7 separate regions of the Homo sapiens genome follow, and all the other regions are linked to region 6. Evidence: promoter capture Hi-C in 16 types of primary human blood cells and fetal thymus (Javierre and others, 2016). All regions are on one chromosome and are shown on one strand. Each heading gives the region's core, a stretch centred on a gene start or on the middle of the fragment in contact. The rest is flanking DNA. Distances are from core to core; before and after follow the strand shown. Region 1 overlaps BCAS3 (BCAS3 microtubule associated cell migration factor). Region 2 overlaps BCAS3 (BCAS3 microtubule associated cell migration factor). Region 3 overlaps BCAS3 (BCAS3 microtubule associated cell migration factor). Region 4 overlaps BCAS3 (BCAS3 microtubule associated cell migration factor). Region 5 overlaps BCAS3 (BCAS3 microtubule associated cell migration factor). Region 6 holds the start of NACA2 (nascent polypeptide associated complex subunit alpha 2). Region 7 overlaps BCAS3 (BCAS3 microtubule associated cell migration factor).

Region 1 (3,122 bases), core at 203-2,702, 820 kb after region 6:
TGTTGGTCAGGCTAGTCTCGAACTCCTGACCTTGTGATCCGCCAGCCTCGGTCTCCCAAAGTGCTGGGATTACAGGCGTGAGCCACCGCGCACAGCCATTTGTTCTTATATTGTTATAAGATAGGTTAAAGAAGGACATTAGTTACATTTGGAAAACTAATATTAATGTATAAAGGTTAAACAACTAATGTGAGATATTATACTGGCATTTTCAAAAATATGAATAAAATACCAACAGCTGATATTAGCTCTATATATGGAGTCATTCTGATTAGAGAGTATACATATACATCTATACACACACACACAGATTACTTTAAAAGTACAAAACTGAGTCAATACTGTTATGATGAATTTAAAACATTAACAAACTGTGAAGCACGACTTTATACAAAGAAAATTTCTCAGGGCAAAATACTGTATGTATTTCCCATACAGAGGGAAATAAGTCTCTCTTTAAATTCTTCACTCAAAACTTTGCTTTTAATCTCTAATTCACAATTCTAATTTTTTATTTCCAATCCAATAAAGACTGCATGTTCTGTTTCTCTCATTTGCATCTTTCTCCTCTCCACTTTGAGCACTGAGTACAAAGAATTAGACCATTCATAATTCTTGGTTCATTTCTTCTCAATGAATGCATGGACCTCTTCTTTATACTTTAATAATAAACACCTATGACCCCCTCATCCATAAGAAGTAAAACACTGCCAAAAACTTTCATTTACTTATATAGACTCATACATCCCAAACCCTACTACCCACTGCCAGGTAGTCAGTATCCTATAATTTGTGCGGATCATTCCTTTGCACACACGGTTTTTGTTTTCCTTCTTTTAATATTAGAAGGTTTTTATTAGTGTGTCTGGTTGTTACTGCTAACTATAAATTTACATAAATTCACTTGGCCTCAAATTAGATTATTTCCATGTTCTACAAATGAAAAAAAAAAAGAAATTCTGAAATATTCCCAAGGTAAACCTATATATACATAAAAACTGCAAAGTACAGTAACAACAACAAGAGAAAAAAATTCAGTGAAAACTAGGTTAAACTAAACAGTAGATGCCAAAAAGATAGTTTAAATGATAACATGGAGGCCCACACTTCTTGTTGTTAAGACTAAAAGCATCATGGGGAAAGAAAAAAATGATGCCAGACTCTGAAAGGCAAGAATCATAGTAGTCCCTTGTTGATAGTTAAGAGGAGAAGGAAAGTTTAAGACTCCTTTACCTATTCATGAGATCAAAAGAAATAAAGGAATCCCTTGGTGTTTTTATCACTTTCTTTTGCTACTGCATCTAGCACCCGAGAGAAAAAAAACCCCACAATTAATGCTATGATACCTCCAGAAATTTCTCTATAATGCCTGCATCTTTCAAAGTGTTTGAAACTTAACTTCTCCAAAGATACATTAAAATTTTTAAACTGTCTTACAAATGAAATTCAATTTGAAATTTATTTTTTTCTTTATTTATAAAAACTCACATAGGACTTTTACTACATGCCAAGCGCTATCCTAAGCACTCTTAAGTCATCCAAAACAAGGAACTAAGGCAAAATGCTGAACCTCTGCAGCAGATCAGATTTACCCTCCTGCCAGGAAAACTTAAGAAACAGATAAAATATATAAAAAACAGTTTCAGACATCCAACAACACGCAGCCCAGGACAGTGATCCTTGAGACAAGGGAAACAATTGATGTGAGCCCTGTGAATGCCCCAACTTACCACTCATTCATTTGAGTATTGTCAATGGCTGCTTTTGCCCAATAGGGCAGAGATGAATAGTGGAATAGTCAGGACAGATGGCCCACAAGCCTAAAATACTATCTAGCTCTCTTAAGAAAATGTCTACAGACCCCTGCTCTAGACTAATGGCTATTCTAGGAATACCTAACAAAGAGTAAGAGAAAGTATTGAAAGAATAAAATTATTGCCAAGTAGTTTAACTGTGTCCCAGGACAAAACCAAAAATATTTAAAGGAATACAAAATAGTCCTGAGCAACACAAAATTCAAAATGTGTGGCATCCAAACAAAAATTTTAAGTCATGCAAAGAAGCAGGAATAGATACAACCCATAATAAGGAGAAAAATCAATCAACAGAATCAAATTAGATAACCACATTAAAATTCCTATGATAAACATATTCCATTTATTCAAGGAGAGGAAAGTGAACATGTCTCCAGGCACATGGAAGATCTCTGTCTCTGCACACACACATGCACATGTACACGCAAATTGTAAGTGAAAAATGCAGTGTCTGAGAGAAAAAAATACACTGGATGGGTTAACAACATTAGATACTGCAGAAAAAAAACATGAAGAAACATGAAGAGGCACCAATAGAAACTACTGGAACAAGAGGGGAGGGAAAGACTTCAAAAGTGATCAGAGCATCAGTGAGTTGTGAAACGACATCAAGTGAGCTAAAATCCATGCAGAGGAAGGAAAGAAAATATTTTAATACGGTTTGTAAAAGGCATTGTAAAGAAAATAAGAAGACAAGCCATAGGTAGAAGATATTTCCAAAAGCCTTATCTGATAAAGGACTATTATCTAAAACACACAACGAACATAACAGTAAGGCCGGGCAAAGTGGCTCACACCTGTAAATCCAACATTTTGGGAGACCAAGGCAGGCCAATCACTTAAGTGCAGGTGTTCGAGACCAGCCTGGGAAATACGGTGAGAACCTGTCTCCAAAAAAATACAAAAATTAGCCAGGCATGGTGGCGTGCGCCTGTGGTCCCAACTACTTGGGACACTGAGGCAGGAGGATCACGTGACCCTGGGAGGCAGAGGCAACTGTGAGCCATGATCACGCCACTGCTTTCCAGCCTGGACAACAGGATGAGACCCTGTCTCAAGAATAAATAAAAAAAAACTCAACAATAAGAAAAAAACCTGATGAAAAAATAGGTTAAAGACCTCAACAGTTGGCTGGGTGTGGTGGCTCATGCCTATAATCCCAGTACTTTGTGAGGCTGAGATAGGCAGATGGTTTGAGTCCGAGAGTTTAAGACCACCCTGGGCAACACGGCAAAACCCCATCTCTACAAAAAATACAAAAATCAGCCAGATGTGGCGGTGCTTGCCTATAGTCTCAGCTACTTGGGA
Region 2 (3,036 bases), core at 105-2,604, 730 kb after region 6:
AGTGAGCTGAGATCACACCACTGCACTCCAGTCTGTGCGACAGGAGCGAGACTCCATCTCAAAAAAAAAAAAATGTGGTACATATTCACCACAGAATACTACACAGCATAAAAAAGAACAAAATCGTGTCCTTTGCAGCAACATAAATGCAGCTGGAGGCCATTATCCTAAGCGAATTAATGCAAGAACAGAAAACCTAATACAGAATGCTCTCACTTCTAAGTGGGAGCTAAACAATGAATTCACATGGACACAAGGAAGGGGACAACAGACACCGGGGCCTACTTGAGGGAGGAGGGTGGAAGTAGAGTGAGGATCAAAAAACTACCTATCGGGTACTATGCTCACTACCTGGGTGACAAAATAATCTGTACACCAAACTCCAGTGACATACAATTTACTGATGTAACAAACCTGAACACGTACCCCCAGAACCTAAAATAAAAGTTGGAAAAAAAATTATTTATCAAGTTTTTCTTGCTAACTCTCTTGTACATATTAAGTCATATGTTTATTTTCTGTATCAATGTTGTTTTAATGTTTAATTTTAATGTCAGCATTAAAATTAATGTTATAACATTATAATGTGGGCTAAGCTTACATTAGCTCTAAAATAAATGATTTCATGCATGAAAAATAAAAAATAAAGGTGTTCATAATAAATAAAATGACGATAATTCTATGATAACTGTTGTAGAAGCAAAAAGAAGAATACAGTTTTTTAATGGCCCTAATATGTTTAAAGATACTTGATTAAAGAAGATATACAGATAGCAAGTAAGCACATGAAAAGATGTTCAACATATTTAATTATCAGGGAAATGCAAGTTGAAACCACTAATGGATACCACTACACCCAATAGAATGACTAAAATTTTAAAAACTAGTAGTACAAAGTTATGGCAAGAATGCAAACTAATTGAAGCCCTCACACATTACTGCTGGAGACGCAAAATGGTACAGTCACTCTGAAAAATAGTTTACCAGTTTGTAAAAAAATTAAACATACATTTTCCATATGTCACAACTAGGTATTTTATTAGCCATAATAAAAAGCCTAGAAACAATTAAATGTCCATCAATAGGTGAATGGACAGTTACATATTAATGCAATGAAAAGTACTCAGCATTTAAAAAGAACAAATTATCTATAAAACAACAAAAGTGAATCTCAATACCATGACTGTGGGAGTAGGGAAGCTATACATAAAAGTCTACACACTGTATGAGTCCCTTCTATGAAAAGTTAAAAAAAAAAACAACAGCCACAACTATAATAATAGGAAGCAAATCAGTGTTGCAAGAGAGAGGGAAAGGAGGAAGGTATGGAGCACAAAGTGGCACGAGAAACTTTTGGTGTGACAGAAATGTTAGTGTATCATTTTTATGATGGTAGTTACACAAATGCATACAATTGGAACAACTGGAGGTGGGAGAGAATCTTGTATAAGCCTGAACTTCAATCTCTAAAATTGACACAAAGCAAAAATTATTTATGTTCCCTACAAATTAATCCAGTCCTCTGCTGATAAGGAATGAGTTAATAATGAATGAAATCTAACATTTTGCCTGACCAACTAGGAGGGGAAAAAAGCAGCCTGTCGCCTTCAATTAGGAGCTCATGATGGCTACAACACACTAGATACTGGAACTCCGATCACTTCACTGGCATCATCCATACAATGTCACAACTGAGAATCTTCATGCAACAAGCCTTCATTAGAAACAGACAAAACAAATGTTACGAAAGCTCAGTTTATAGATAACTGAACAAAATTTGTCAGAACCATAAACTATTTATATATGAGAAAAACCTCTCATTCAACAACTAATAGGAAAAGATAATTCTTTAAAATAAGGGTCTTCACAAATTCACACATTCACAAAGGAGTCAGCACGTTTCCTGCCAATAACACAGTTGGGTGCACGCCCGACATATTCTTTTGTTCTCTGTTTTCTCTTTTGAAAAGCCTTGACCATTTCCATGGAACATAGCAAGACAATCTTAATTTTCCTCATGGGCAGGCTGATGAGAGTGCTTTCCATAAAATAATCAGTATGCATGCCCCATAAGGTGTTATACTAAAATAGACAGACATGAAACAAGCTTTTATTTTCTATCATACAAGCCAAAAATGGTGTAGAAAACAGTGCCACAAGAAAGTTTTACACAGAATACAGTCTTCATGTGACTTCTACAGAGCTCTAATGGATTATTTTTAAAGGATTGTGTTTGACATTTAAACATGGGGCTATGACCTTAAAGGTAAACCTAATAGCATAAAGTGGGGGGAAGTTCCTAGAAGAAGTTTTTAGAGCCAAGTTTAGAATGTAACTGAATCTACTGTAAGCAAATATCAGAGGCTGTAGGAAAGGCAGGAAGGATGCAATTTTTATTAATAAATGCTTCTTTAAAAATCTGTAATTTGTGCCCAGGATCCCATATATACATATAAAAATGCATAGTAAAGGCATTTTACACTATTCATGATAAATGTAAATAGAAATGAATGCAAATTCTCTTTAACTGACCTTTTCTTTATGTAAGTAACTTGTTTTATAGTGAATTACTGAGCATGTGTGTTGAAATTTTATCAGAACAATCTGTTACCTACTGTACATTTGACCCATACCCATAAAGGAAGTTATTAAGATTTTATTAGGGAGGAAAAGGTCCTCATTTTTATATATTACAACAGCCAAAGGTATGGAATTTACACAGTGAATTCATTACAGTGAAGAGGGTTAATTAAAAGTATTTAAAGAACAAATTTCAAAAAATGCTTCTTTTATTGAAAATTAAAAGGTTAAATTAAGTAATTATGAACTATAAAACAAAATATTTAAACCAGATTTCTTAAAAGGAAAAATATTATAAATATAGAAGACAAAAATCAACAAGAAGTCACTAAACATTTTCATCTAAATGAATCTATAATTTTTTTTTTATTTTTTTGGAGACAGTCTGGCTGTATCGCCCAGGCTGGAGTGCGGTAGCTGGATCTTGGCTCACTGCTACCTCTGCCTCCCAGGTTC
Region 3 (2,914 bases), core at 103-2,602, 620 kb after region 6:
ATTTTCCTGATAATTTGACTTTTGAACAGTACAAAATATCTCTGGTAATAGGCTTTGTCTTAAATTCTATTTTAGTTGATACTAATATAGTTGAATTTCCAATATTCTTATGTTTCTTATTTGGATGATGTATCTTTTAATATACATTTACTATCATATTAATGTCTCTATATTCAACACTACCTTATAGGCAATTTCTTCCTTTATATTGGAGTACATTAATATTTAATTTCTATATGGTTGAATTTTGATATACCATTTAATATCTGTTTTCTGTTTATCCCTCTTTTTCTTGTGCTTCTGCCTTTCCTTTCCTGTCTTTTGTATTAACTGAACATTTTTTAGTATGCCATTTTCATTGAAGCATTGATTTTTTATGTATAGCAATGTTGAACCTTGCAATAGTACAGCTCCATATACCTGCCTCCACCCTAGCACCCTCCATCTTTGTGCTATAGTTGTCATATGTATTACATGTACATATAATACAATACCAACAAAATAATTCAATCATTCCCATATATTAGACACAAATTTTTAAAAGGGAAAAATCATCCTTTCTATTCAACAAGAAATGACCATATTCTTCACTATTTCCTAAAGCTGCAAGTTTGCTTCTGGTATTATGTGCCATTAGCATAATTTACAGTGTGGATGTCTCGCCTTTACTGCTCCTTCATCCTTGAGAGATATTGTTGTTTGATGGAAAACTTCAGGTGGCCAATATTTTATTCTTTGAGTCCTTCAGACATGTTATTCCACTGTCTTCTGACTTCCATGGTTTCCAGTGAGAAGTCAATAGTGTGTTAAAATGTACTTTCTGTGTGTGCAATGCATTACTTTTGTCTGCCTACTTTCAAGATTTCCTCCTTACTTTGGTTTTCAGAAAAATGACTATGATGTCCTTTGACATGGTTTTTGTTGTACTTAATCTTATGTGTTGTTTGCTTATCTTTTTGAAGTTGTAAATGTATGTCTTTCAACAAAAGTGGAAAGTTTCCCACTTTTAGATTTTTTTTCCTCCCTTACTCTCCTCACCTTCTGCAATAACTACATGTATGTTGGCTCTGATATTGTCCCACAAGTTGCTAAGGCTCTACTTATTTTCTATTTTTTCACTCATTTGGTTTGGAAATTTCTAGTGATCTATCTGCAAATTCATTTACTCACTCAAATTCTGCTATTAACACATCCATTTCATTTTTATTTTTGATATTGTATTTTTAAGTTGTAGACTTTTCACTAGGTAATTTCCTATATTTTCTCTTTCTCTGCTGACATTTCCTACCCTTTTATTTAAAAGAAGCATATTTTCCTTCATATCACTGAGCATAGTAATAATAGATGCTTTAAAATAATTTCTACTAGAAGATGGAGACTTCCAGTTCCAAAACGGTGGTATAGAAGCTAGCTGGCTTCACTACCCCTGCAGAAAACCAAAAACAAATATATAGTACCGAGATTTTAACCAGAAACACTCAGAACTCAAATATGAGGATGAGACAATTCCTGAGGCCACAGAGAAGTGAAAAAGAAAACCTCAGAGTGAATGGTAAGAGATTCAGACTTCCAGATCTGTAATGCCCCTCCCCCGATTCTGCCTGGCATCAAGAGCACAGAAAATCTCCCCCCCCAACTCATGGTGACTATACTGGAAAAAGTGAGACTGAGGTGGTAAACCAGCTTTCCCACCATCTTGGGTGCTCTGGCAGGAAAACTATCCTTGCCTTAACTGGCAGGAAGTATCGTGGCTGCCTGATGGGAGAAACAACCCTGAGGACAGGCCAAGACAAAGTGGGGAGGCTAGACTACCATCCCTAGCCCTGGAAACTTTGTTCCATTACTTGGCCAAAGGAGACACCAAATTAGAGTGGCTGTTCAGCAGCACCATGTAGTAGGCAATACATTACAAAGGTCCCTGGGCACAAACCCCTAGCCAGACTTGACACACTGTGGGGATAACCACTTTGGGATGCTCCCAAATCAGGATAGGCAGTACTACAATCATTTAGCAGAGCCAAGGTGAACCTGGGCTTTAGGTACCACCTATATCCAAAAAAAAAAGGCAACAACTTAGCTGTAAAGATTCACTAACAGGCCAGACACGCTGCCTCATGCTTGTAATTCCAGTGCCTTGAAAGGCCAAGGCAGGTGAGAGGATCACTTCAGGCCAGGAGTTTGTGACAGGCAGGGCAACACAATGAGAGTCTGTCTCTAACAACAACAACAAAAAAAATTCTTTTTAAAGTTAGCCAGGTATGGTGTCACGTGCCTGTAGTCCTAGCTACTCAGGAGGCTGAGGTTAGAGGATTGCTCCAGCCCAAGAGTTCAAGATTACAGTGAGCAATGACTGCACCACTGTACTCCAGCCTGGGCAACAAAATGAGCCCTGACTCTAAAAGGATTAAAAAAAATGCACTAAGCAAAATATACCCAATAAAATCAAAACAAGGTAGACAGATAAAACTGAAATAAAGTATCAATGCAAAGATACAGATATACACACGAAAAAAACAACAGCAAGTAGGGAATTATGACCTCTCCAATGGACAAAGCAAAACTCCAGTGACAGACCCTAATGAAAGAGTGATCTGTGAGCCCTCTGACCAAGAATTCAAAATAGCAGTTTTAAGAAAACTCAGTGATCTCCAAAACAACAACAACAACAACAACAACAACAAACACACAGAAAAGCAATTCAGAAATTTATCAGAGAAATTTAACAAAGAGATTGGGAAAAAATATAGAAATCTTGGAACTGAGAAACATATTTGCTGAACTGAAGAAGTCATCAGAGACTCTCAACAGTGGAATGGACCAAGTGAAGGAAAGAATCAGTGACCTAAAATACTGGCTATTTGAAAATACAATTGGGGGTGTGGGGGGTGGTGGGAGAAGGACAAAGAACAAAAAG
Region 4 (3,071 bases), core at 431-2,930, 560 kb after region 6:
GCAATTATATTCACTGATCTTCCTGTTGTCTCTTTTTCTTCTCGGATTTGTGAAAATGATGTGTCTATTTTTGTTCAGAGAAAAAGACCAAGGTGGAATTACATATCAATAGCCTCTCAAACCTAAATCTTTTCTGTTGCTCATATGTCTGAGGACACATTTAGTAACTGCCATTACTTCCTGTCACTGCCATTCAAAAGAAGTAGATCTCCTCTGTTTTCCACAAATAAGTTTTCATGCTCAGCTTCTAATATCGACCTCACACCTTTTCAATCCCGTATTTCTGTTCTCTTTTGGTTTATCAAGGGCTTCCCAAAGCAATTTTGCCAATCACCTTTGATAAATTATTTTCTCTAATTCATAAACCAGTAGCCTCATCGTGCACTGGTAAAGATCACAGCCAAGGTAGGAAACAATAAAAACTAGAGCTCTGATGTTCCTCTCTGCTAGTTAGCCTCCAATGTCAAACATTAGTTCTACCTTATTTTGCTCAATTTTTGTTTTCATCCTTTACTAAAGTATGGTGGGATGGAAAGAGATAGTTTTGGAGTCAGGAAGAAACATGTAGTTGAATCCCAGTGCTGGCACCTCTGAGCTGTGTGACTTTTGGTTAAGTTATGTAACCTCTCAGAGCTCAGACTACTAATATGTAAAATAGAAATAGTAATGCCTACTTCATAGGATTATTTTAATGATTATATTATCTCAAAGCACTGTCCCCAGCTCATAGTACCACCTGAGGACTTCTTAGGAGTGCAAGCAAATACTCATAGGCCCCATCCCAGACCTACTAAATCAGAAATTCTGGGAATGGAGCCCAACAATCCGTGTTTTGAAACAAACCCTCCAGATGATTCTGATGCATGCTCAACTCTGAGAACCACTATATTAGACAAAGCAGGTAAAGTTCCCAGGGCAGTACTTTCCCATATCACAGTACTCAGCAAATACTAACTTTTCTATATGGCCCTCAGCCCCAACCTAATCTTCAAAAAATTCAGACTTTGCTTTGGTAATCTCAGTTTCCCAGTTCCTATGACATTTTAAATAGTCTCTCAGACATCTTATTTCCTGAGGCTTGTTTAAACATCTTCCTCTAAGGATGGCTAAGTCTGGATCAGAGGCAACTATGATTGGTCCCTTTGGTCTCCCCACTTTGAACAAAATCCATGGTAATGCATATTACTATATATGAAAGAAACCTCTTCTGCCATTTACATTTCTTAAAACACTTCTCATTATTCCTGCAACAAAAAACATCCATGCCTAAAATGTCAACCAGTCACAGTGAGACTTCCAGTGACAGGGAATAAAGACATCGTTTTTAAATAAAAAGTTTCTGTGGGAAGCTGAATCTGGCTCTATAAACTGTTTCACCTCTTCATACTTGCATCTGTCACAACTGTAGTAACATACCTCCAGAAAGGAAGACTCTTCTCTGCCCTATACCTGAACAAATATGCACCTTCCCATGATATCTGGGTCACTGGCATCAGAATTGTTCTTTCTGGTTATGATGCTCTCTGTTGCATTACCTGAGAATATAAGGCTTCTTTCAAAGCTTTTATTTCCATCACTAAACTGCTATCATTGAACTGACAAATTCCTCTAGCTGGTATCTTTGAGGTACCACTGGTCATTTTTAATCCTTAGGAGTTTTGGGAAGATGGTGGCTGGGGGAACGGGAAAGAGAAAAGTATTGTAGAATTTTTTGAAAGCAGTTTGCAATTGTGCGACTATGTGCTTTTACTAGAATCACCATCAGAGAACAAAGCTACTACAATGTACCAACAAGCTTCATTGGGACAAACTCAAAGCTCTTTGCAAATTACTGGATGTCATTGTTGTTGTTTTTAAATCATGTGGTAAGTAACAAGTGAGCATGCCTCTTCTTAAGAGAAAATATGGTCCCTCTGAAGTATGCATCCTAAACAGACTTAAAAATAGTTGCTTCCAGGCCAGATGGCAAACTTTCTAACATGATAATAAAAAGTAGAAAAATGAGAGGACGTCAATTTAGTTTTTTGACATACAAAAAATATTTTTTGTATGTTTACTAGTTTAGAGTCTAATCAGCTCATGTCAAAAGCTAAAATCTCTTATACATCTATAAGTTACATACAATTCTGTTTTGGAACACACAAGTAAAAAGCATCAACACGGTGTTATTTTTACATAAGCTCAGTATCTCCTACAGAAAATAAGTATTTTATGGTAAAACTATGCTTAATTTCAGTAAAGAATTACCATTTTTATTTTTATATTTCATCATTTCTTTTTTCCTCTGATAGGGCCTTAAATTTCATTAGTAAAAGTCTGTGTTTATTAAGGAGTCAAAAGAGTTTTCACCCTGAAAATAACTTGCTATCTGCTACATAACATAGTGTTGTGTGTTGGGTATGAAGCATATTGGGTAAACACATTCATATCAAGTTATTTCTATCATCAATCTATAATCTGGAATGATTGTGGTATTTCAGCAAAATAAAAACATAAAAATATGTGTGTGTCTTTAAGATTTGCAGAGGAATAAAAAGGAGAAATAATCTAATAAAAAGAACGTTATGAATAAAATATCTTCTATGGGATACACTCAAAGTTAGAAATTTTAACTTGGGTTCAATCTGCCCTTCATCCTAAGTTTTTAAAAGTCCAAGAAAGCTTGGCAGAAGTAGAAGGGCTTTTCTAGCAATATGCCAGTGACATACAATGTATGAACTTTTCCACAATGACCTAGAATATTTCTATCACAAAATAACCTTTTGTTGACAGAAAGATAAAACATTGAAAAATGATACATACGTGAATGTATTAGAAAAGTGCTAGCTTTGTATATTATGTAAATTTACAGATTGCTGACCCAACCCTCATAGGAAAGCACTCCAATGCTAACCTTTTTTTTCTCTCTTGTTCTCAACATCTCCCTTTCTCCTCCAAAAGGGGTCTTTAAAAAATCTCATTAAAGAACATTTGCAAGTTTAGAAAGAATTTCTCTGGGTGTTTGGATGCCTTCCCTCATTTATTTAATCATTTATTAAGTTAATAATACAATGATAGAAAAATATTTAAAT
Region 5 (2,843 bases), core at 12-2,511, 760 kb after region 6:
GAATCTGGGTGATAATGATGTGTCAATGTGTCAATGTAGGTTCATCAACTATAACAAATGTACCACTCTAGTGGGGACTGTTGATAATGGCAGAGGCTATAAATGTATGCGGGCAGGAGATATGTGGGAACTTTCTGTATCTTCCACTCAATTTTGCTGTGACCCTAAAACTCCTCTAAAAATCTCCCAAAAAAGCTGAGAGGATAAAATTTTTTTAGAGAATCCATTTTTTAAAATTCATTTAAAAGTCTAAACAATTAATGACTAAATGAGAAATTCAGGAGACATACTTGGGAAAATTCCATTTCTGAAACAAACATCCTAAAATGTTTGACATTCTACCTTTTGTGAATCTTGCTTTTCTAATAAGGCTAATATCTGTTACTGCTGTATAATATCTATAATTTCATCACGAGAATATGAATATTGTACATTTGATAAATACCACCCATTGTTATAAAGGCTTTACAAGTACTATTTCATTTAACCTTTCCAATAACCCTATGATGTAGGTAAAACTTTATACAGGAAAGCCTCTCTTTCTTTCTTTTATTGCAGCAACCATGGCCTGATAAGAAAAGCTTTTCTTTAAACATTTGATTCAATCTTCAAATTTTAAAAAAGGAACACTTTAATCTTTAATATTCAGCAATAAACTACCAGTGGAAATGTTTCTAACAATAGCAAAGATTTTGGTTGCTAAAACATGTAATATTTAAGTTGCTGATACTCATTTACTGGTTGATTAGGAAATCTATTTATAGATGAAGAAGAGAAGTAAAAGAAGACTGAAGTTTCAACCTTGACTTCAGTAACATCAGGTTTCCAAATAACCAAAGAAAAAACTAACAAATCTGCCTTCGGTATTCATGTAGTAGATAATATAATCAGCCATAATAATAGCATAACTGTTACAGTGTACTGTTTGAAAGTAGTAATTCAGGATACTAAAAATCTCATATTGTAAATCCACATGTAAAAGAAAAATATATTTATAGCTTTAATAGCAAAAATATTAATAAATTGTTCATTATTTTTTAATTTTGGAAGATATATGAATTTAATGTCCATTAGAAGATTCTATTGTACTTTCCTATTTTATCGCTTTCTTCTGATAGATAACAAAAGTGCAGAAACTGCTGGCAGAGGAATACAGAAGAATAGAGAGGCAAAACAGACCAGTTAAAAATTAAACATTAAAATTTTAGTTAATGATAAAGAAATACATCATAAAGTTCCCTAAAAATCATGTACAGTTAGTTTTGAGTCATACTATTATAAGGAACTTTTGAAAACTAAAAGAATATACTAGGGAAAATTTATAAGTTGGTTATAGTAGAAGCACTAACAACCACAAAAAGCAAGATGTTGCCGGGATTTATTTCCCTAAAAGCAATATAACTTAAAACTCCTTATCAGTTATGATAAACAAAAAAATACAGAGTCATTTTTCATATTAACAGATACACACAACCATAGCTAACAAAAAAACATGGGGTACTTGAAATGAGGATACTAAAGTCTAGCTCAACTCATAAAAAGATGTTAATTATACCATCTTCTGCCAAGCAAGCACAGTGAGGCCAAATATACTACTATACTGTGAAAGAGTATGCCCAGTTTTATTACTCTAGTATCATCTTAAAACTTGATAATCTACCAATGTAGATTAGTTTGAGTACACATATGAAATCAATAGAAACCACTTCACTAAACATTTCAAAGTAACCAAAGTTCATCACAGCATTTGAGACATGCTGAGAAATGAAGTAAAGCCAAAATTAATAGATTATGCTTAAAGTCTAATTCTCAAAATCAAGGAACAACCTGTTATATCAAGACAGAACAGGAAACATTTTAGAGAAGGATATGTGTAAAAATTTATAGTCAATTATTTTCCTTGTCAATTCTTAAAATGATAGCAGAAAAATCTAAGCTTTTGCTTATCTTTATTAAGAAGACAATAAAATATCCTGTTCTAAATTAATACTTCTAAGAAATCTGACATATTATTGAAGTACAACAAAATTATTCCTCTTGTACCATAAAATGTTTTGTTTGAAAACTAGTAAGAATATTTACATTCATTTTACATAAATGTTATTATATTACATAATTTGTGATAAAGCCACATTAGTATAATTTCTCTTTCCTGTTATTAGAATCAGAAAAATATCACATGATGATTTAAATCCTTCTAATGATAATATGCAGTTATTTTATAGTGAAATATAACTTAAATTGCACCAAATACCTACAGATATAAATACAGCTTTAAAAAGTAGTTTCACGTTTTGACAGATTACTTTTCATAGTAGACAGAGAAGTAAAATGTTTTCTTATTTGGCTTTTCTTGTAAAGGCAGTTGGAATTGAGCGGAAAATGAAGGGGCGTCAAATGACAAAGCCAAATGTTGCAAAATATATCTATTATATCAAATGTGGATAATTACAGTTTTGAAAGAATACGTGAAGTGAAAATATATAAGTGCCTTACCACTGATTAAAGTTTTTGTAAACATATGTACCGAACGAAATAAAAATAAATTGTTTGTAACATAATTTTGAAACTTGGTAGTTCAAACAAATAGCCCTCATTCACAATTCACAAAACTACTATATGAATGAATGGTCACAGATGCAATGCAAAAGTATAAGTGTGCAAAATGCAAAATACTAAGGTTATAATGAAGCAATCTGTAACCACAGCAACTGTGAGTTTCTGACACAATCTTGAAAGAAATTTGGGATTTCACTACAATTCTTATTGCCTAGGATCAAGAAAACTCACAGCATTCTGCTTTTAAAAATTAAAACTATTTCTTTAGGACATCCAACTAAAAG
Region 6 (2,961 bases), core at 8-2,507:
TATTACAATGAAAAGGATGCCTTTCCTGCTATTCAAGATTAGTCGTTCTACTTGTGCCATGGATTTCATTCCTGGCTCCTCAGAACCTTGACTGATCAACTTCCCTCTTTCATTTGTATTTAACTACTCCTTTTAGAATTTAAACATGCTCAGGTCTCTTCTTAGGAAGAATATGTGTTTACCTATCCGCCAACTATAATTATGTCTTCAGCTACTGCACTGTCTCCTCCCGCACAGTTAAACTTCTTATAAGAGTACTCTGATCTAATCCAATCTTTCCATTTCTTCAATTCCTACTTCTCAGCCCACTGCAATCTAACTGCCTTCTGAGTCATCCCCTGTAACTAAAGCAAAAACTCTCTTAACGTATATTTAGCCAACATAATGCAAATTGACTGATACTCTCTGTTGCCTTCGTGAAACATATTGGTGGAAGCCAACGGCACACTCTATAGCTAACGTGCTACTGCCTAGTACATACGCGGATTTTTGTTTTTTGGTTTTCTTTTCTATGGATTTTTTGTTTTCTCTATACAGTTATAGGCTTACCAAGAATCAGTTGTGTTTATTTAACCTATTTATGCTGGGTATTCTTATTACTATAATTATGTAATTTAACTGATTATTACGTAAACTCATTATATAACTGTTATATGAAATATAAATAGAAAAAATAAAATAGTTGTTTCTGTGCAAATTAAATTGAATGGTTTGGAAACATTTACAATTTTCCATTCATTGGGGGAGCAAGAAAAGATCGAGGGAAACCATACATATCTAGGATTCTGCGTTCAGATTGCTTCATGAGCACCTTTGAGTTCTTGGTCTATTTTAAATAAACTAAAACAGGGAATGATAGACAATACCTTTATAGATATGATTTATGTGAGAAAACCGAGGCTGAATTCCAATAAACAGATAATACTCAAAGAAAGGTTTACGGCTCCTATCAAAAGATTGGCAAATAAAAGTACAGTGATATGTTTTCAGTTAAAACAGCATGTTAAATAATGTAAATTTTAAAAAATGATTCCCCAATTTAGTCATTTTTTCAAGGAACTGACCATTAACCAATTCCCAAGTGCCACTCACACCGCACCACTCAGACCGCGTAACTTACAGTCTCTAAATCCAATAGATCCTTTTCCATTCCAACTTGACCTCATGGCAGTGTAGCACTGCTGACAAATGTCTTTTTAAATGCTCTCTTTTTGCTTCCCGCTGCAACAAGCGTGGGTCACGCTCTCGCTCGCGCTCTTTCTGCCGCCATCTTGCTTCCGCGTTCCCTGCACAAAATGCCGGGCGAAGCCACAGAAACCGTCCCTGCTACAGAGCAGGAGTTGCCGCAGTCCCAGGCTGAGACAGGGTCTGGAACAGCATCTGATAGTGGTGAATCAGTACCAGGGATTGAAGAACAGGATTCCACCCAGACCACCACACAAAAAGCCTGGCTGGTGGCAGCAGCTGAAATTGATGAAGAACCAGTCGGTAAAGCAAAACAGAGTCGGAGTGAAAAGAGGGCACGGAAGGCTATGTCCAAACTGGGTCTTCTACAGGTTACAGGAGTTACTAGAGTCACTATCTGGAAATCTAAGAATATCCTCTTTGTCATCACAAAACTGGACGTCTACAAGAGCCCTGCTTCGGATGCCTACATAGTTTTTGGGGAAGCCAAGATCCAAGATTTATCTCAGCAAGCACAACTAGCAGCTGCGGAGAAATTCAGAGTTCAAGGTGAAGCTGTCGGAAACATTCAAGAAAACACACAGACTCCAACTGTACAAGAGGAGAGTGAAGAGGAAGAGGTCGATGAAACAGGTGTAGAAGTTAAAGACGTGAAATTGGTCATGTCACAAGCAAATGTGTCGAGAGCAAAGGCAGTCCGAGCTCTGAAGAACAACAGTAATGATATTGTAAATGCGATTATGGAATTAACAGTGTAACCATCTGAAAGCAACTTTTTTTGGTGTCTCAAAGGAGTAACTGCAGCTTGGTTTGAAATTTGTACTGTTTCTATCATAAATAAAGTTATGACTTCTTGCTGGAAAAAGAAAAGAAAAGAAATGCTCTCTTTTTTTGGTCTCCAAGTGCCGTACTCTCCGGATCTACCTTCTTCCCTGGCTTATTCTTCAGTTTCCTTTGTGGTCATCTTTTCTTCTACCCAGTTCTTAAATATTAGTGCATCTCAGGGGTCTTTCCAAGGCCTTGTGTTCTTTTCACTCTGCACACTCAACATAGGTGATCAGATTCATTTCTCTTGCTGATGATCCTCAAATAGTTTCAGTCCCATCTTTGTCCTAAGACACAGATTTGGATATCCAGCCACCTACTTACCGTCTTTCCTTGGATACTCTCCCGGCACCTCAATCACAGGATAGCCAGAAGTATACTCATCATCTCTCCTCTACCGGATGACTAGAGCTCCTTCTCCAGTGTCCCCAGCTCAGTGAAAGTCACCATCATACCCTTCATTCCCAAACCAGCTACTCGATACTCATCCTTAGCTCTTCCCTATCCTTTAAAATCTCTGGCACCCAGTAAATCTTCAAGTCCTATTGCTACTGCCTCCTGAGCATTTCTCAGATTCATGCACCTCTCTGTGTCTCTACTGCCATCATCCTCTCCCAGATTTTCCTAATAACCTACTAAACCGTCTCTCTACCTCCAGTCTCTCTTCTGTCCGATCCATTCTGCAACCAGAGTTGCATATCCCTTCTTTAGTGTATGAGCAACTGAAATAGTCTGAACTCTTCATGTGGCTTATTAGGCCTTGTATGGTCTGGCCTCTGACAGTTTTCTGCTATTCCCCTAAATGCTCTGGTCATACTGAACGTCTTTCAGTTCCTGCAACATCACACTCCCTTGCCCTCAAGCGTTTACACATGCTGTTCCCTCTACCTGGAACATTCCTAGTCATCTTTCAAATCTCGGCTTCAAAATCATTTCCTCAGGAAAGTTTAC
Region 7 (2,821 bases), core at 311-2,810, 580 kb after region 6:
TTGCAATTTAAAAAAAAAAAGGAATTATGAAAACAACTTCTTGTGCTCTTTTTTTCCTGTTACCTTTTGGATAAAGGATATCTACAGGTACGTGTACTTTGGGGGACACAAACTCTCAATCTCCATACTAACACATAGTTCCACTGTCTGCATATATGAGAATGACATGGTGTGATCTGTTTACTAAAAGTTTTGCTAACTTCAAAATACCATCTTACTTATGCTTTGTCCTAAATTATGTTTTCCCAGACATTCTATACTATAAAAACACAGAAGAAAAATGGATTAAGTTGAGGATAAAAGTGAACAGAGAAAATAACAATGGGCTTTGTTGCCACGCTGGAGGAATAGCTTGTCAGGTCAGCTTTGCAGAGAGGCATATTCCCAAACCAGTCATCATTAACAGACTCACTTCCACAGGAAAAAAAAAAAAAAAAAAAAGACAGAGTCTGAAAACTCCGGACAAAAGAAATCCCTGCAGACAAAGTAAAAACAAATTAAAAGACCCATTATAAAACACAGATGCTACAAGGAAAATAAACTTTCTAAGATTTACTGGGCTTTGACAAACTTGGACATTTGTGGAAAAGACATCAGCAGCAACTCCCAGGTAATGTGGCTGCAAAGTTAGACTCCCTTCTGTTTTATCTTTACCCTCTGTGCAGAAGCTGCCAGGTTGGTATTCTTAGCTTCTGAATGCAGTGATGTGAGAACATGTGAATGTGGCAAACTGCCAACTGCAAGAACTCTCTGAAGCTAGCAAAACTGAAATTGTTGAACATTTCAGATTATGTTAAATATTAAAGTTACTATCAGTGTATCTGTGTGTACATATGTATAGTTGTCTTTCTTCCGAGATACAAACAAGAAGAGGGAAAATAAAAAATGAATGTATTTGCATCCTTTCTACCTTTAAAAAATTTCCATATCTTACCATATTGTGAACCAAAGGACATAAAATCAGTTAAAATAACATTAAGGAATCAAATGACAATAGTTGTAGATCAGAAAGTACCTTAAAGGAGTGTCATACCAGAGAGAGAGAGAAATTTTTGTTACAGGTTTCTAAAAGTTATTGTTAATGGAGGACAAAGAAAGATTCTTTAGGAACAGAAGGTATGAGAAACTAAGACCTACAATGGAATAAAGTGGGTCAAGTGAAACATTTGGAGGATAAAAAGAGCACTGTCCTTCTGTTGTCATTAGACATATGAGGTAAGTATAGTATTAGAGTATTAGAGATAAGTATAGAAACGGCAAAGCTTCATTTGCAAAAAGAGCTAAAGGACACTAAGCAATGGTGCCCTGTGAAAGAGCAGTGTTATTAGGAGGTCCACATATCATCCCACTTATTCTTACCACAGACACAGACCTTATCCACTTTAGGCACTCCACTTTTCTGAAGGTTTACAATAGACACCTTCCTATAACTCAGTACTCTAGACTCCTACGACTGTATTAAATTCTGTTCTCATCACCTCTCCATACACTTATCTACAACACCCACTATTGTTCTAGGATATAAGCTCCTCACCTAGTGTCTTTGGTCTCCTATTTGGAACTCTTGCATTTTGAAATCGGATTACTGAGCCACACTGAAGCCCGAGGTCAATGTGACTCTCTGGCACTCCTCAGAAGACAATTCTACGGAAACAGCCCCAGTCCCAAATATCTCCTTTATTTTTGCCCTCTTTGCAACACTTTACCTATTCTAAGACATCATGTAGATGTTCTATTCCCTATATCATATCTTTCAAAAATAAAAACTAGATGATGAGTTCTACGGGGCCTTTTTTTTTATTTTTTTATTTTTTATTTTTTGGTAAACTTTTGTCTTCTACAGAAGAGCAAAGCTTTTGGACTGTTTTTAATATCTTGCTGTGGAATTGACAGGGATAAAAATCTAAAATATACCAAGGAGTTTAACTAAGTTAATTCTGTAGTTGAAAAGCTCTGACTTCTTGACTCTGTCAAAGAATACAATGGTAGCTTGTTTTGAAATAGTCACTGGAAATGTGGGCTCTGAAAAGTTAAAAACACTGCTTAGTTCTTGCTTGCCATCCAATTTAACATTAAAGTTTTTTCAACCAAACTCTCAATAGTTATTTAACAAAAAATACCCTGTGTAGAAGGGAATTTCCTGCAGGTGGGTTATTTTTGGTTGGGATGGGAGTGTGTGTCTCTCTCTCCATCTCTCTCTTCTCCCCTTTCCTAGATGAGAATGTCAAGCTTCCCAGCTGCAGTTCCAGGACTTTCACCCTCCTTTATGACCTTTTCTCAGGCATGTTCCAGTATAATCTGCAATCTACTCAAGTCGGAAAAGGAAACAGCAGCACCCTGGTGAGAAACAGTGCCTTCTGACCCACATACCAAACTGGGCGGAAGCAATGCTTGTTCACAGGAGCCAAGGAGAGTAGAACACACACTAAAAGAAAATGAATTTTATGTGTGTGTGTGTGTGTGTGTGTCGACACACAGACACACATTTTTAAAGACTATAAACACAACAAACAGTTTGGGTGACAAATAAAGACAGAAAATACTGAAGGACAATCCTGTGTGGGCACTGATTCATTTTGCCTATAACTTTTTTTTGGAGGCAATCGATGGTGAAGTAAAAACACTGCAATTTTTGATGCATTTCAAGCAAAAACACTTGTTGCTTTCTTTGAGTAAAAAGTTCACGTCACCATAGACATTACTGTAGGTACTTTGAGAAAGGGTGAGAAGGTAGGAAGATTAGAGAAATCTCCCACAAAATGGACTTGAAAACAAGAATCCAATCTTTCTTTTTTTTTTTTAAACAGGATGGGGATTGAGA

Evidence for each region. Contacts are between HindIII fragments. The CHiCAGO score rates a contact against its expected background, and 5 or more counts as called.
Region 1: a fragment that was not itself captured here is called in contact with the fragment with the promoter of NACA2 in region 6 in 1 of 17 cell types (erythroblasts); the score reaches 5.3 in erythroblasts.
Region 2: a contact is called between a fragment that was not itself captured here and the fragment with the promoter of NACA2 in region 6, in 1 of 17 cell types (erythroblasts). The highest score is 5.4, in erythroblasts.
Region 3: a fragment that was not itself captured here is called in contact with the fragment with the promoter of NACA2 in region 6 in 5 of 17 cell types (M1 macrophages, naive CD8 T cells, M2 macrophages and 2 more); the score reaches 6.7 in M1 macrophages.
Region 4: a fragment that was not itself captured here is called in contact with the fragment with the promoter of NACA2 in region 6 in 1 of 17 cell types (M1 macrophages); the score reaches 5.5 in M1 macrophages.
Region 5: a contact is called between a fragment that was not itself captured here and the fragment with the promoter of NACA2 in region 6, in 1 of 17 cell types (erythroblasts). The highest score is 5.2, in erythroblasts.
Region 7: a fragment that was not itself captured here is called in contact with the fragment with the promoter of NACA2 in region 6 in 1 of 17 cell types (M1 macrophages); the score reaches 5.3 in M1 macrophages.

The regions. Positions count from the first base shown.
Region 1 is chr17:60,773,414-60,776,535 of GRCh38, reverse strand. The region is part of intron 6 of BCAS3 (BCAS3 microtubule associated cell migration factor); the gene reads right to left. Among named protein-coding and RNA genes, the nearest start is that of BCAS3, 97 kb to the right of the region's middle. The HindIII fragment of the contact is 4,331 bases long and covers 1-3,122 here.
Region 2 is chr17:60,856,610-60,859,645 of GRCh38, reverse strand. The region is part of intron 7 of BCAS3 (BCAS3 microtubule associated cell migration factor); the gene reads right to left. Among named protein-coding and RNA genes, the nearest start is that of BCAS3, 180 kb to the right of the region's middle. The HindIII fragment of the contact is 1,511 bases long and covers 599-2,109 here.
Region 3 is chr17:60,967,717-60,970,630 of GRCh38, reverse strand. All of the region lies in intron 14 of BCAS3 (BCAS3 microtubule associated cell migration factor), which reads right to left. Among named protein-coding and RNA genes, the nearest start is that of BCAS3-AS1, 170 kb to the left of the region's middle. The HindIII fragment of the contact is 4,247 bases long and covers 1-2,914 here.
Region 4 is chr17:61,031,015-61,034,085 of GRCh38, reverse strand. The region is part of intron 16 of BCAS3 (BCAS3 microtubule associated cell migration factor); the gene reads right to left. Among named protein-coding and RNA genes, the nearest start is that of BCAS3-AS1, 100 kb to the left of the region's middle. The HindIII fragment of the contact is 234 bases long and covers 1,564-1,797 here.
Region 5 is chr17:60,833,366-60,836,208 of GRCh38, reverse strand. All of the region lies in intron 7 of BCAS3 (BCAS3 microtubule associated cell migration factor), which reads right to left. Among named protein-coding and RNA genes, the nearest start is that of BCAS3, 160 kb to the right of the region's middle. The HindIII fragment of the contact is 1,355 bases long and covers 584-1,938 here.
Region 6 is chr17:61,589,515-61,592,475 of GRCh38, reverse strand. NACA2 (nascent polypeptide associated complex subunit alpha 2) reads left to right here and starts at 1,257. Exons shown (of 1, transcript NM_199290.4): 1 at 1,257-2,055. The coding sequence starts at 1,296. The coding sequence ends at 1,943. The HindIII fragment of the contact is 7,754 bases long and covers 1-2,961 here.
Region 7 is chr17:61,007,689-61,010,509 of GRCh38, reverse strand. The region is part of intron 15 of BCAS3 (BCAS3 microtubule associated cell migration factor); the gene reads right to left. Among named protein-coding and RNA genes, the nearest start is that of BCAS3-AS1, 130 kb to the left of the region's middle. The HindIII fragment of the contact is 591 bases long and covers 1,265-1,855 here.